2 separate regions of the Homo sapiens genome follow, and region 2 is linked to region 1. Evidence: promoter capture Hi-C in 16 types of primary human blood cells and fetal thymus (Javierre and others, 2016). All regions are on one chromosome and are shown on one strand. Each heading gives the region's core, a stretch centred on a gene start or on the middle of the fragment in contact. The rest is flanking DNA. Distances are from core to core; before and after follow the strand shown.

Region 1 (7,956 bases), core at 3,123-5,622:
CCTTCCCCTAATGGGGTGAAGAAGGAAGCATCTCTGTGATAAACCCAGCAAATGCCACATGATGATTCTGGCACACAGACCACTGCATCTACTCTTCTTCCTCAGATTTCTTATCTAAAACAGAGGAGTAACCTACGATCTGTCTGTTAAAATCAACTGAGTCAATACAAGCTGCTTCAAAGATAAAATTCTTCTTTCCACAGTCATTTTTGGCTTGTGATATCCATATGGTTTCAGAACCCAGTATCCATGAACTTCCTTGCCAGTCCTCATTATATAATCAAATTTCTCATCAGCCCACATAGCACAGTTATTTTCACTCTTGATCTTCCCAAGTTCATTGATAAATGTTAATCTGTAGGTCTCAGGTTATTTTTTTAAATTCTATAATTTTAAAATTCCATAACAAAGAAACATATTTTAAATCACTTTTTAATTAATTCATGAATTAGAGATGGCACCTCATTCTGTTGTCCAGGCTGGAGTACAGTGGCACAATCATAGTTCAGCCTCTCTAACTCCCTGGCTCAAGCAATCCTCCTCCCTTAGCCTCCGAAGTAACTGGGATTATAGGCATAAGCCACTATACCTGGCTTTTTTATATCAATTTTTTGTTTGTTTGTTTGAGACACAATCTCACTTTATTGTCCAGGCTGGAGTGCAGTGGCGCGATGTCGGTTCACTGCAACCTCTACCGCCCAGGTTCGAGCAATTTTCCTGTCTCAGCCTCCCGAGTAGCTGGGATTACAGGTGCCCACCACCACACCTGGCTAATTTTTGTATTTTTAGTAGAGATAGGTTTGGCCAGGCTGGTCTCGAACTCCTGAGACCAGCCTGACCAGCATGGTGAAACCCCATCTCTACTTTAAATCTCCCACTGGTCATGTTTCCTACCTTTTCAGGTCTTGAGCAGACAGTAAAATTTTGTGTTTGATTTTGAAATTAAAGTGCTGCTCTTCAAGAACAATTTGGTGATTGGGTTTAGGTTAAAACACGTATCTGACGGTCTCAACAGTTCTCTAAAGTCCTTCCCCATGCCCCCCAAAAATGGACATAATTACTTAAGATTTCTTGTCTCTAGATCGTAATGTGTATAACTATTGTTTTAAAATGTATACATGTGTACACCTTACAAGCAATGGGGGAGATTATAGAACAGTTTAGAGTTTAAAGCCTGAGACTGCCTTCTCTCCTGCTTATCCTCAGTACCTTTTCTTTAAGATTGCACTAAAATGAAAGGACTAGATATTAAAAACACATCCTCTCATAATCTCCTCCAAAGGAAATAAAATCTCAGTAGTTTGGTTAGGCAGAACTTCAGGAAGTAAACCATATTGGCCTTGAGAGTGAGACAGGAAAGAAATGAACTCGAGTAATAAGAAGTGTGGGTGCCATAGCTACACATCAATGATCAGGTACATTCAGTTAGGTCTTGCCTTTAAGCCAGTAAGTATGCACATGGAAGGCTGGGTTCAGTGACCTCCAGAATCCCTTCCCTCTCCAATAGTGTTTGCCTCATGAATTTTTTATAGCCATCCTCTGTCCTATCACACTGTCCCTATGTATCATCAAGCCCTCCTGGCCACTTCCAGGACTGAAAGGAAAATCTGTTCTTTAAAAAAAAAAAAAAAAATCCATGCTTTGACTCCTGCCAAAATTATAGTTCTGTCCTTGAAACAATGACCTGAAAATAATGGGTAAGGCTAAGAACCTCTGAGCAAATAAATGCCCAATATTATCTTCAGATAATATTTTTTAAGCTCCTCTGATATAAGCAGAACTATTACCTGAGGTCCTGGGAATGAAGATTATGAAGCTAGAAGACAAACAGTCAAATCTTCCCAACTTGTACTTTATATTCCCTGCTGAGTGTCTAACCTTAAAAAGAAGGTAGAACCAAACAAACTGAGTTTGAATCCTGGACCCATCTCTCATTAGCTGGGTAATATGAGGCAAGTTATTTAATCTTCCTGAACCTGTTTCCTTACTTGTAAAATGTTGATATGAGCTACCTTATAGAGTTACCATGACAATTAAATTGGATAATATAGAGAAAACGCTGAGCATTCATTTGTTGGTTTCCTCATTCATTCAACAAAGGTTAACTGAGGTTCCACTACCATCCAGGTACTGGGTACAACAACATAAAAGACAGAATAAAAGCTATTATTATTTACCAAAAACAGTTTGTTTCCAGAGCTGCAGCAGACCTGTCAAATTTTGACTTTAGTTCAAAACTGTCATTCACACCTAGCTTGCCTAAAATACTCATTTTTATTTTGCCAAATGTGATCCCAGGTAGGAGTCTTGCTCCTGTCATACCTTCACCCCCAAAACTAGTCATCTAGCAGGCGTTCTGCTATAGGACACCTTCAGAACACTTGGAAGAAGCATTGATCAGAGCCAAAGGTGGTATCCCAACTCTCTTCTGGGCAAGCCGCTCAGGAGAACTTGATACGCCTGTGCTACAAGGCCCATCCTGGATGCCTGGGAGTCCTTGGGTGCTTACAATTCCATGAGTGGACTCTGAGTCTTCCCAGAACTCAAGATCAATAGGACTGGCTCATCCCCATCATTGCCACTGGGGCACTGATAAAGCTAAGAGCAACAGCTAAGGGGTCTGAAAGCCACATTTTCATGAGCGTTTATGTCTTTCAATGGTGCTTTACTCTAGAGTTTTTGATAAAATTCTTTATAAATGACCCACCTCTGGAGTTAGTGGGTTTCAAGGCTGGTGGGCTCTTCTTCAATGTAAGTTTAACATTCCCTTTCCTGGCTAGCCTGCAAGCCTCCAGGCAAGCACAGGCCTAGCTGTGTCAGGTGCTGGACATTCAGCATACATTAACAATCATTTTGCACTTAGAAAAAAAAAGGTGTTTTCAATTGCATTTTGGAACCTGGGACTCAGAGCAAAAGAATAAAAGCTGAATCCTAAAATAAGAAATGACCTGCCTTGGGTTATAGTGGGGGAAGGGGTGGGCGAAGAGGGAATTCTAGAATAAAATTCAGAGCCATCTGTGAAGCTAAGGATAGGACAGTGGACAGTTGAGCTGTGCCTAAAAATCTTTGATTTGCAGACTCCTCTCATTAGGGAGCCGCCTGAATCTCTTCCCTTAGAAACTAAAATACGGATCGTGACTACCTCCAGGCAGGGGTTTTGCATGACTGCCTCCTACCTGGAGGTGACAGCCTAGTCTCTCCCCACAGAAATTCTCAGTACAAAAAGGCTGTCACTATATCCCCCCACCCCACCCCCCAATCTGATGCATCTAAAATTTAGATGTACAAAAAACAGTGGCTTCTTTTCATTTTCCTTACTCCTGGCTGGCGCCTCTAATTGCTCACTGAAAACAGTGGTTTGGATATTAATAGGCTGTAACTCAAGGCCCTACCTGAAGCTCGTTGTCAGGGAAACAGCACTCCAGCCCCGCAGCTGCTTCCCCAGCCTGGGAAGTACGGATGAGTTGGTGGGAGTTGGGGATTGTTTTACAGCTTCTGTTATTTCTCCCACTTTCTGCTATTTCTCAAGACCAAGTTAGAGGAAGAGGGGAAACTGGAGAGGAGGGTGAGGGTAGAGTAGCCCGGAGAAGCTTAGAGGAAGAGAGGAACTCTTTGGGAGAGGAAGACTAGGGGTCCTTGAAGTATGGCTTGGGGCACTAGGATCTTTCCTCCCTCGGTCTACACGGGGTCACTCTCTGGGTGGCTCCCAGCACCCGGAGGCCCGGCCCCCTCTGCTGCCCTCACCTGTCCCTCCTGCCTGGGCGCTGGGTGGCCCGAGGAGAGCGCAGCCAAGTTCCCCAGAAGAGGGATATGAGCGGCCACAAGGCTGAGAAGCCGGACAAAAAAAGGCAGAGAGCAGCGCTGCGGTCGGACGGGCTAGAGGCGCAATCCCCTTCGCTCCCAGGCCGGGGTCCTGGAGAAGGCGGACGAGAACACGCACCCCCGTCACCCTCTCCCTGCGCCCCGGGGTGACGGACTCTCCGGGATCCCGCTCTCCAAAGCTAGCACCAAGTGCCTCGGACGCCCGCGCGCGTTCCCGCGTCCCGGGATGATCTTTGCCGCAGCTGCCGGGCTTCCCGGGCCCCGCACCCCTCCCACCCCACGCCCGACAACCGGGGCTGGACTCCCACCCGGTCCTCTGGGCCCTGCGCGTCAGGCGCCCCCTGGGCCCAGCGCTCCTTTGAGCTGGCGCCGCGCGTCCCAGCCTTGCGCACCCGCACCCAGCTCCCTTGGCCGCCGGGCCCTCCTGGGACTCACCTGCCCTGGGACTGAAGCGGGGGCCACCCCGAGCCCGGGGGTGGCGGCGGCGGCGGCGCAGGGGGAGGAGGGCAGCGCGGGGCTCCTGGCACAGCGGCCGCCGGGCGCCTGGTGCTGCCGAGCCGCGGACCCGCCCAGAGATATAAATAACATTATCTGAGGAGGGACATTCCTGCCGGGGGACATCGCTGCTGCCGGGACCAGATAGTCCCGCGGCGGGGGCGGGGAGGCGGGGCCGCAGCCTCCCGCAGCGCCAAGCCCAGCCCCCGCCTTCCCCACCCACTCACGCACCTGCCAATCAGCCTCCGCGCCTGGGGGCACCTGCCGGGCCTCAGCCCGGCTCCTGGAACCCGCCTCTGCCTCCCCGCCCGCCGCTGAGCCTGGGGCGCCTCCATCGTCGTTCATTGCCCCTAACCCCGCGCCACCCCGAGCCCCCTGAGGCGGGAAGGGGGTTGGACTCTAGCTCGGGCCTAATTCGTGCGCCCGGAGAGGCAAGCCTGGTGGCGAAAATGAGCCCTCCAGCCTTTCCCGCCCTGCATCCCCACTGCACACAGTTCAGTTTTTAAAATATATGAAAAGACATTTAGGCCATAGGGTGGGCGCGGCGGGTACCCGGGAGGTGAACCCCCGCCGTGGCGGGTTTGGGAGGGACAGATTGTTCCCGGGGGCTGGTGCATTAGAAAGCGCGCTCCCGGGCGGGCTTCTCTCGGCTGGCGGTGGGAGGGCAGGGGGCGGGCACTGGGCCCGAGGGCCCCACCCCCAGCCCGAGCTCAGTGTCGCTGTTTCTGCCCGAAAACCTAGTGTAATCAGGACGAACCAGGCAAAGCTGGCGGCGCGCAGCCTGCAGTCCCAAGGAGCTCGCACATTGTAGGGACTGTAATCAACAGGCAGGCTGCCACACCTGCCCACTGGCACCTCCTGGCCGGCCCGGGTCTCCGGGCGAGTGGGGGTGCCTCACTACAAGCCTGGATGAGGCGCGGCGCAGCAGGCCAGAGGAAATACTAGAACCGATGGTGCCAAAAAGGCATCTCCGAGTTGCCCCCGGAGAGAAACTCAATAGAACACCGGCAGCTTGCAAGGCAGTACATTTTCTTGACTTTCTAACGATCAAGGTCATTGTTCAGTAAGGTTTACGTGTACGCCTTGAGGTAGCTTTCATCTCTTTTCTCCACCTGCGGTGCCTGGGATGATTTCTCACCAGCTATCAACGCAGGTAATCTCAGGTATTATGGAAATGGCCGTGGAGATTAAAAGCGCATAGATGCAGAAGAAGTTTTAACTTTTACTGATGCTGCCTGGTGTTCTTAACAAGGGAACAGTCTTACTCCTGAGTTATTTGCTTGGGATTATAATTGTGCTGTTTTCCAGAATTCACCCAGGAAAGGGGTGTTTGCCAGATGTTCGAGTTTAGTTTATATATTGAACATATGCAAAGATACTTCACTTCCTGCTGCAGTCCCACTTCTTGAGGGTGGGTATTTAGACACTGAGATGTGCTGAGTGGGACAAACGCCCCAGGTATTACAGAGCCACAGAATTCTTCACTCCACCCTCCTCTTGGCTGGATCCTTATTACAGCTCAATTTTCCAAGAGACACTAGTAATATGGGAAAGAGGATACAAAAACATTCATGGTCATCGATAGATTCGCAGTGATCCCCTCCTCCCCTTTGTTGACAACATTTAAGAATGCATTTTTCTATTACTGAGTTAAAAAGAGAAAGTTCTGTTTTGTGAAAAAAAATGTTTAAAAGTCAAATTCTGGCAAGGAAAGCTCAAGAAAAACAGGCCAACTTCAAAAGCTGAGACTATTATATATCTCAAGAAGAAATCCTTCATCTATTTTTGTTAGAAAAAAATGGAGGGAAATTATGTATTTATGGTTTTTTAAAAGCTTGTATGAATAAACTTATTAGATAAATTCATGGTTCTCTAGAATGGTGGTTCTGCAGCTACGTAATTATATACTATGCAAGCCAGATAATTCCTTAGCTATAGGTCTGTGGCACTGAACTGAATAGTTGCATACATATTTTTCTTTGTAGCCTTAAAATTTATAATTTTCAACCATAAGAAAAAATTAATATGATAAAACTCCAAATCAGCAGACAGATTACCCCAACATTTTACAAACCAGCTCAGCTGCTTTAGTTATCTCCACTTTAGCTGAAAGCTAAATAATTCAATACAACCTCATTTGCTACAGAGCATGTTATCCTGACAGCATCCCCAAATGCTTTACAGCTAATAGAGTTACAGTGAAATGATAAATCAGAACTGAGGAAGAGAGGAAATTTAGGCTTGCAGTGAGGAAAGGGCATTGTCAAATAATAGGGAAAGGGGAACAGATCTCTGTGGCCAGGAATGAGAAATTGGGAGAATAAAAGAAGGGAGAAAGGTTGGGCATGGTGACTCACACCTGTAATCCCAGTACTTTGGGAGGCCGAGGCAGGCGGATCACTTGAGGTCAGGAGTTCAAGACAAGCCTGGCCAACATGGCAAAACCCTATCTCTACTAAAAACACAAAAATTAGCTGGGTGTGGTGGTGCGCACCTGTAATCCCAGCTACTTGGGAAGCTGAGGCAGGAGAATCACTTGAACCTGGGAGGCATAGGCTGCAGTGAGCCAAGATCACGCCACTGCACTCCCACCTGGGTGACAAAGCAAGACTCTGTTTCAAAAAAAAAAAAAAAAAAAGAAGGGAGAAGGAAACACATACATATGTTCGTTATCAAGGTCATCATTGTGGGCAATAGGGATCACGTCTGGAGGGACCTCCTCAGAAGAGTATAGAATACCTCTTGGAATTGTCTATGTGAAGGATAGGAGATTAACCCTCATCCTGGTTGGACAAAGGACTGCCCCCACTGGTCTCCCACCCATGTTGAAAACCTACACTTCCGAGCTACCCAGCAAGCTCCACATAGGCAGTCTGCAGATTTGGAAGAGTTCTGGGGCCAGAAGAGAAGGTGTGCATTTGAGAATAGATGTTGACAGCCAGAGAGTGGGGGGTAAACCTTCACAGAACTGTCTACTCAGGTCTAGCTGAAACCAACAGGTGAGGCCAAGAAGATATAAGTTGAGACTTATGTTAGAATCATCTAACATAAGAGGGAACTTTCACTTTCCATTTCTGTAGTCTTTGAGTTTTTCACAATAAGCTTGTATTGTTTAATAATAAGTAGAGATGATAAATAAATTAAAAAGTAAAGATTGGATGGAGATGGTGGATTGAATACACGCATTTAGCTTCTCTTCTACCCCAAATTTCATTAGAAGATATGTCTGAAACAGGCATCTAAAAGCACAGGAAAATAAGGAAAAGGGGATCAGTGTTCCAACAATGTTCAAGAAATCCAGAGATACAGAAAAGATGCAAGATCTGATTCACAGAGAAACAAAATCAGAGGAAACCAAAACAGATTCAGGAGGAGCAATAGTTTAGGGAAGTTGCAAGCAATAGTTAAAGGATACAAGAGGAGGAGGGGCCCTGAGACAGAATAATTCACTTAGGAGCCTCCTCTGTCCTGCTCACATTAAATATCAGGTGTTTGCCTGCAGGACTTAAAAAAAAAGTTAATGGGGATCCTGGGACCCAAGGGGCAGAGCTCAGGGATCTAGTGACCCCAAGAAATGACAGAAACCATTCACTCTCTTGGGATAGCATGTCCTGACCCTTCTTCACAGCCCCTGAAGAT
Region 2 (7,956 bases), core at 3,781-6,280, 210 kb before region 1:
AATGGAATATTATTTGACAACAAAAAGGAATGAAGTGCTGACACGTGCAACAACATGGATGAACCTTGAAGACTTTAAGTGAGATAAGCCAGACACTATAGGTCACTTATCAGCCAGGTGCAGTGGCTCATGCCTGTAATCCCAACACTTTGGGAGGCGGAAGCAGGTGGATCACCTGAGGTCAGGAGTTCGAGACCAGCCTGGCCAACATGGTGAAACCCCATGTCTACTAAAAATACAAAAATTAGTCAGGCGTGGTGGCAGGTGCCTGTGATCCCAGCTACTCAGGAGGCTGAGGCAGGAGAATTGCTTGAACCCAGGAGGCGGAGATTGCAGTGAGCCAAGATTGTGCCACTGCACTCCAGCCTGGGCAACAGAGCCAGACTCCATCTCAAAAAAATAAAATAAAATAAAGGTAACTTATCACATGATTCCATTTACATGAAATGTTCAGAAAAGGCAAATCCATAAAGACAGAAAGTAGATTGATGGTTTACCAGAGACTAAGGGCAGGAGGTAATAGGGAGTAACTATAGTGGGTATGGGGTTTTGTTTTGTGATAACAGATATGCTTTGATATTAGAGAGTGGGGATGGTTGCACAAGACAGTGAATATATTAAAACACATAGGCCAGGTGCAGTGGCTCATGCCTGTAATCCCAGCACTTTGGGAGACCAAGGCAGGATGATTGCTTGAGCCCAGGTGTTGGAGACTAACCTAAGTAACAAAAAGTACCAGTCCATACAAAAAAACACACAAAAAAGTTAGCCAGGGGTGGTGGCATGCACCTATAGTCCCAGCTACTCAGGAGGCTGAAGTGGGAGAATCATCTGAGCCTGGGAAGTTGAGGCTGCAGTGAGCCATGATTGCATCACTGCACTACAGCCTGGAAGATAGAGTGAGACCCTGTCTAAACACACACACACACACACACACACACACACACACACACACACACATGCACGCACACACACAGAGAGAAAACTAATTGTAAACTTTAAAATGGTGACTTTTATGTTATGTATATTATACCTCAATTTTTAAAATACTGCCTTAAAAATATATTTATCGAGTGAGTGATTCATCACTGAAAAAGACAGAAACTCTGGGAGCTCTGGATCAACTCTGTAATTCTTCCTGGATGTTCCTGCTGGTTACAGTTCATGAAAAAAGATTGCATCTAAAGGTTGCAATGTTGGCACCCCGTGTGAGAAAAGGGTGTAGCTGTGATTTATCTGTGACTGGGTGTTGGTTGCCAGCACTCTGGCTGGATTGTGTCCATCATCCATTTTTATTAACTTCAAGAGAGGAAGTCTGTGTTAGTTCCTTTGTGTTGGCATAAAGGAATACCTGGGACTGTGTTATTTGTAAAGAAAAGAGGTAGCTGGGTATGGTGGCTCACACCTGTAATCCCAGCACTTTGGGAGGCTGAGGCAGGCAGATCACAAGGTCAGGAGTTCGAGACCAGCCCGGGCAATATGGTGAAACCGGTTTCTACTAAAAAATACAAAAATTAGCCAGGCATGGTGGTGGATGCCTGTAGTCCCAGCTACTCGGGAGGCTGAGGCAGGAGAATCTCTTGCACCCGGGAGGCGGAAGTTGCAGTGAGCCAAAACCATGCCACTGCACTCCAGCCTGGGCAATAGAGTGAGACTCTGTCTCAAAAAAAAAAAGAAAAGAGGTTTCTTTTGGCTCACGGTTTTGCAGGCTGTACAGGAAGCATGATGCTGGCATCTGCTTCTAGGGAGGGCCTCAAAAAGCTTACAGTCATGGATGGAAGGCAAAGGGGGAGGAGGCCTGTCACATGGTGAGAGAGGGAGCAAGGTGCGGGGCAGGTGCCACATTGTCTTAAACAATCACATCTTCTACAAACTCATAGAGTGAGGACTCATTACCATGGGGAGGGCACCAAGCCATTCATAAGGGATCTGCCCCCATGACCCAAACACCTCCTACTAGGCCCCACCTTCATCACTGGGATCACATTTCAATATGAGATTTGGAGGAGCCAAATATCCAAACCATATCCAAGCCAGAGAGGGAAACTGTGAACCTTTTGTGACAGGCTAACAGAAAAGTTCTGTATTTCAAGGCTAAGTACATCATCTTAATTATATGGTGATGGGGCAGATGGTGAATGCTTGGGTTAGAATTTTGATTTATTTTATCATAGGCTTTGGAAGTTTACATAAGAGGTAAAAGAAAACTTGTTGGTATTCTCTGGGACATGGTGTAGAACAGTCAAGAATCCCTCCCCCCAGGAAAGTGCTGTCTGTGGTTCATACCCTGCTAAGATGGGTGTAGAGCTGGTGCCAGGCACTCCTCTTGTGGATATACTCAGGGGCCCTGTCAGTTTGGTTGGACCAGCAACATTTTCAGGGTTTGTCCTTGCAATGCGTCTCTTCCGTGGGTGAATGAGAAGGTGAGGACTGATCTTTACCTCTTATGGAGAAGTAAAGAGATTCTGATAAAAACCTGTTTGGACTAGGGAGCAACCACTTCTGCAGGAGAGACAGTTACATCCAGGGCTGCCCTGATTCTTCACTCCCATCCCCAGGTCTGTGCCAGGGCCTCTCAGAAGACAAGAGTGACCCACAGTTACTTCCATTTTTTTGAGGTTCCTAGTATATTAAAATATGAAGAAATGCCAACACCCCCCACCAAAAGATGGTGAGAGCGGTGGTGTTTTTTGTTTGTGTGTTTGTTTGTTTGTTTGTTTTGAGACAGAATCTCACTCTGTCACCCAGGCTGGAGTGCAGTAGCGCGATCATGGTTCACTGAAGCCTCAACCTCCTGGGCTCAAGCAATCCTCCCACCTCAGCCTCCCAAGTAGCTGGAACCACAGGTGCATGCTACTGTGGTGTATTTTAAATGTTTACATTTGACAAATTAATACTTCTATCACAGAAAAAAATAGTAAAGGTAATGTGTTTTTGCATGATAATTCCAGGGTACATTTTAAATATTTTACAGTGCTCTACAGGCAGTGAGGAACACAAGTTGAGAGTTCTATCCTGAACATTGCTTCTTTCAGACCTGTCATCTGGAGCTAATGTCAAAAGCCAGAATGTGGGGCCCTTTGTTAATTGTGAGATGAGAGCCTGTGCCCCTCTATACCTTACCCTCACCCCTAAATAGGCCCACAGGCTCCCTTACACCTAACAGCTGCTGCTATTCTCTTGGGTTGGAGTGAGATGGTGGAGAATCAAAAGCTGTGTTTTAGTGCTGAAGCCAGTTCTTATTACAACTTTTCTCTGCAGTTTATAAACAATTTGCTCTTAAGATCTTAGCAGTCTTTCTGAACAATCCAGTATGTTTGTTTGCTGCTGCCCAGCAATGCCTGCATGTTTTTGTGGATTTTATTTTGTTTTTAAATTTTCTTCAAAAGCTGTAGTTTATTATAAGGGCAAAGGCAGCAATTATTGGCTCTCCAAATGCAGTCAATCTGAGTGTCAAGTAGATCCTTATTTCAGTCCTCATGGGTCTTGCTTGTTGACCTTGCTCCTGCAAGGAGTGTCTATGAGCTTGCCTTGGCCCTGGTCCTAGGCCCCTCTCTTTTTCTGTAACCTCAAACCCAGATGGCCATGCCCCTTGGATGATGTGGTAGTGGTACTATAAGCCCAAGGATCCACTAAAGGACTCATTTTGAGAAATTTGGCAAAAGAAGTTTGGCTCTATTAGGACATCTTTAAACAAGAGTGAGAGGACATGTGGCATCCTGGATGACTGCCAAGGTCGAGCTGGAGTTCTCTGGAGTGATTTGGGTGCTAAATCCTTGGGTGGGGTCCTGACTATGAACTGTTTCTTTATTTTCCAATTGTAACAGTCTCTGAAGGTAAAACTAGCATCAGCAGTATTAATCGTAATAACAATAGGAAATAGGCTGGGCGCAGTGGCTCATGCCCGTAATCCCAGCACTTTGGGAGGCCGAGGCAGGCGGATCACGAGGTCAGGAGATCGAGACCATCCTGGCTAACATGGTGAAACCCCGTATCTACTAAAAAATACAAAAAAATTAGCCGAGCGTGGTGGTAGGCGCCTGTAATCCCAGCTACTCGGGAGGCTGAGGCAGGAGAATGGCGTGAACCCAGGAGGTGGAGCTTGCAGTGAGCCGAGATCGCGCCACGACACTCTAGCCTGGGTGACAGGGCGAGACTCCGTCTCAAAAAAAAAAAAAAAAAAAAAAGGAAATATTTCAGCATACCTATTATGCACCAGGTATTAGTCTAGTCTCATTTAATCTTCACCATGACTCAGTGAGATACAAACTATTCTATTATACCTATATATTTTTAGAGATGAGGTCTCACTATGTTGCCCAAGCCGGAATGCAGTGGCAATTCATAGGCATGATTGTAGTGCACTACGGCCTCAAATTCCTGGGCTCAAGTCACCTTCCTCCCTCAGCCTCTTGCCAAGTCACTGAGAACACAGGTGCATGCCACCACACCCAGCTTTGGGTACTCTTTTTATGTCCATTCCACAGATGAAGAGACCAAGTTTAAAATGGATGACTTGCCTCAAATCACACAGCTATTGAGTAACAGAGCTAGGATTTAAAGGCTGGTTCATCTGACTCCACATTTCAGGAAGTCTTATTTGGGGGTTTCTAGAAATAAGAAGCCTTATTTGGGTTTCTAGAGAAATTTCTTTTTCCAAATCAACTTTATTTTCCCCAGACCCTTTTTGTGAACAGAGTTTACATCAATGAAAAGAAGGCTCCTACAGTGTGGCGTGAATGCCAGTGACGGGAACACCAAAAGCTCTGAACCTCAGGATCAGGGAGACCACAGCCTGCTCCTGGGATTGTCATGAGCCATTTGGCAGGAGGTGGATCTGCACAGTCATGGAGACCAGACTCCTAAGCAGGTCACCTAAGTAAGGTTTCCCTGTACGCTCTCCACAGGGCCTGGGAACTTCAGAATCTTGCCACAGGAGGAAGCTTGATGAGTATTCACCCTCTGATGTTGTAGACAAGGAAACTGAGGTCCAAGGAGATTAAGTAAAGTGCACCCTGTCTGCACGTCCAACATGGGTCTCCTGGCTCTCACACCATTTAGAGATGAGCCATTTTCTCAATAACAAAGGCAAGGCCCTGAGAGATAGTGTAATTGACCAAGCTTCTTCAGGACAGGGATGTGGACTCCACTCCCTTGGGGTCCAGCAAATGCCTTAGTAACAGTGGCTTGTGGATGGAAGGTGTTATTCAAGCCCTTGCTGGATGAATAAATTATATGCACCTGTTTCTCAAAGTTGCCTTAGTGAAAGAATCATTTGGGGCACATGTTAAAGATGAAAGTTCTAGTCTGAATACTAGACTAGAATGAGTCTATTCAGGACCCTGATAGAACAGTGTATATATATATATATATATATATATATATATATATATATATATACTTGTAAATATATATATATATATTTGCAAGCTGTATATATATATATATATATGCAAGCTGTATATATATATATATATATATGCAAGCTGTATATATATATATATGCAAGCTGTATATATATATATATATATGCAAGCTGTATATATATATATATGCAAGCTGTATATATATATATATGCAAGCTGTATATATATATGCAAGCTGTATATATATATGCAAGCTGTATATATATATATGCAAGCTGTATATATATATATGCAAGCTGTATATATATACACACACACACACACACACACACACACACACACACTATATATATATATATATCTCCACACACACTATATATATATATATATCCAGTATATATCCAGGCAGGACCCTGATACACTGTTCTCACTCTTGATCCAGATAATCCCTAACCCATTATCACCTCCCTTTCATGAACTGAAAGTAGTTTGTTTTTAGGTTTGGCTCTATTGCAGGGCTGGATCTATTGCGATTCTGAACACTCATTTTAACCATGACCTTCCTTACCTCCTCTAGGGGGCAGAAATGAACCACTTGTTCATTCTTTGGGGCTGAACTTTGCGACTTTCTCAGACTTTCATAAGAAAACAAATACCCAGAGGAGATCAGAAAGAAAGCAGATCTTATACATGCTTTTCTTACTAGGTTGAAATGCAGTTGCAATCTAGACTCCTCTAAGAGACAAAATACTGTTAGGCACTCTGGCGTTGAATTCAAGCTGACCCAAGTTCAAATCCAGAATCAAACAAGGGTTGGAGAATGCCTCCCATCTTTATGATCCTAGCAGGCTATTTAAATTAATGAAGCCTTAGTTTCTTGTTCTATAAAATTCTAATACAGTCAGCTTTCCATATCCACAGTTTCCACATCTGTGGATTCAACCAACCACAGATAGAAAATATTGAAAAAAACCCAACAATAAAAACAACAATACAACAAAAATAATACAGATAAAAACAATATAGTATAACAACCATTTGCATGGAATTTACATTGTATTAATATTTGACATGATAAGTTATCTAGAGATGATTTAAAGTATAGGAAAGTTGGCCAGGCACAGTGTCTCATATCTGTAATAACGGTACTTTGGGAGGCCAAGGCAGGAGGATCGCCTAAGGCCCCAGGAGTTTGAGATCAGCCTCGTAAACATTAGTAAGACCCTGTCTCTATAAGAACTTAAAAAAAAAATCAGCCTGGTGCTGTGGTGCACCTGTAGTCTCAGCTACTCAGGAGGCTGAGGCAGGAGGATTGCTTTAGCACAGGAGTTTGAGGCTGCAGTGAGCTATGATCATGACACTGCACTCCAGCCTGGGCGAAGGAGTAAGACTCTGTTACAAACAAACAAAGAAACAAAAAAGTATATGGAAGGATGTGCCTAGGTTATATGCAAATACTATACCATTTTATATCAGAAACTTGAGTATCCGTGGATTTTGGTATCCAAGGGGGTGCTGGAGCCAATCCCAGCAAGATACTGAGTGATGACTATAAATAATACCATCTTAACAGGATGGTTATGAACCTTATACTGCAACTGCTAAGAGAAAAAGTCAGCTGTTATTATTACCACAACTATTACTACTGCTTCCTATAAAGGCATGTGATTATTAACTCTGTTAGGAAGGTAGACTCCACTTTTTTAAATAGTTGGCTAAAGCTCTCTAAAGAGACATTCAGCCCACTCTTTTCTGGGTTCTGTACTAGGATGACATTTCACATCCTGGGAGCCAACAATGTGAATAACACAGAGGCTACATTAGACAGAAGGAAACGTGTTGGTTTCCTTAATAAAATCGAACTCATATTTCCTGAGATTGGCTCTGGCTGGCAGGAGACTCTCCACATGGGAAAAGCGGTTAGATCTCTTGGCTGTGTTTTGCCCTCCAAGGCTCACCTTTCCTGGGAGATTTCTCCCTCGTCTCACTGGTACCACCAATGGGTAAGGAAAGCCACACCTCACTCCACCCCACCCCTGGGGGGACTTCCCCTTCACTACCAACATCACGGAATCTGGCTTTGATTTGATTGAGGGTGGCAGTGAGTTTCTTTACCCAGAGACTTGGGGATTATCTTCTTTTTAGCTTCACCTGGAATAGCTTGCAATGTCGGGATCCTTGTTTCCTAAATTGAGATAATAAGAATGAAAATGATAGCAGTGGTTTCCATTTGTTGAGCACGTCTTCTGCGCGACGGCTTGCTCTCATTCCATCTGTACTACAACCCAGTGAATTTGTCCCCATGACGACTGTCATTGTAAAGATGGGGAAACAGAAGCACGAGGAGGAGGTTAGGTCACTTGCTCAAGGCCTCAGGGGTAGTCGGTGAAAGAGTTTAGGACGAGAACCCAGCAGTCTGAACTCACTTGGCTCTGAATGGAGGTGGATAACCACAGACACTGCCTTCCCACCCCTAGAGACACAGAGAGAGCTTCAGTTCCCTGGGTGTGACCCTTTGCTAAGGCACATGGTGGATGAAGAAGGTGTGTACAGCTCCTTTAGGGCAGTCAGCTTGCAAATGTCTGGCCTA

The links. The method cuts DNA at HindIII sites, captures the fragments that hold promoters and counts their contacts. A CHiCAGO score of 5 or more calls a contact.
Region 2: a contact is called between a fragment that was not itself captured here and the fragment with the promoter of SPTB in region 1, in 5 of 17 cell types (M0 macrophages, total CD4 T cells, M2 macrophages and 2 more). The highest score is 7.8, in M0 macrophages.

The regions. Positions count from the first base shown.
Region 1 is chr14:64,875,535-64,883,490 of GRCh38, forward strand. SPTB (spectrin beta, erythrocytic) reads right to left here and starts at 4,373. Exons shown (of 36, transcript NM_001355436.2): 1 at 4,258-4,373. LOC105370534 (a long non-coding RNA gene) reads right to left here. Exons shown (of 3, transcript XR_943942.3): 3 at 5,347-5,854. RefSeq lists silencers at 4,484-4,653, 4,704-4,843, 4,914-4,993. The HindIII fragment of the contact is 2,561 bases long and covers 3,589-6,149 here.
Region 2 is chr14:64,665,765-64,673,720 of GRCh38, forward strand. No RefSeq gene overlaps it. Among named protein-coding and RNA genes, the nearest start is that of PLEKHG3, 35 kb to the right of the region's middle. The HindIII fragment of the contact is 178 bases long and covers 4,942-5,119 here.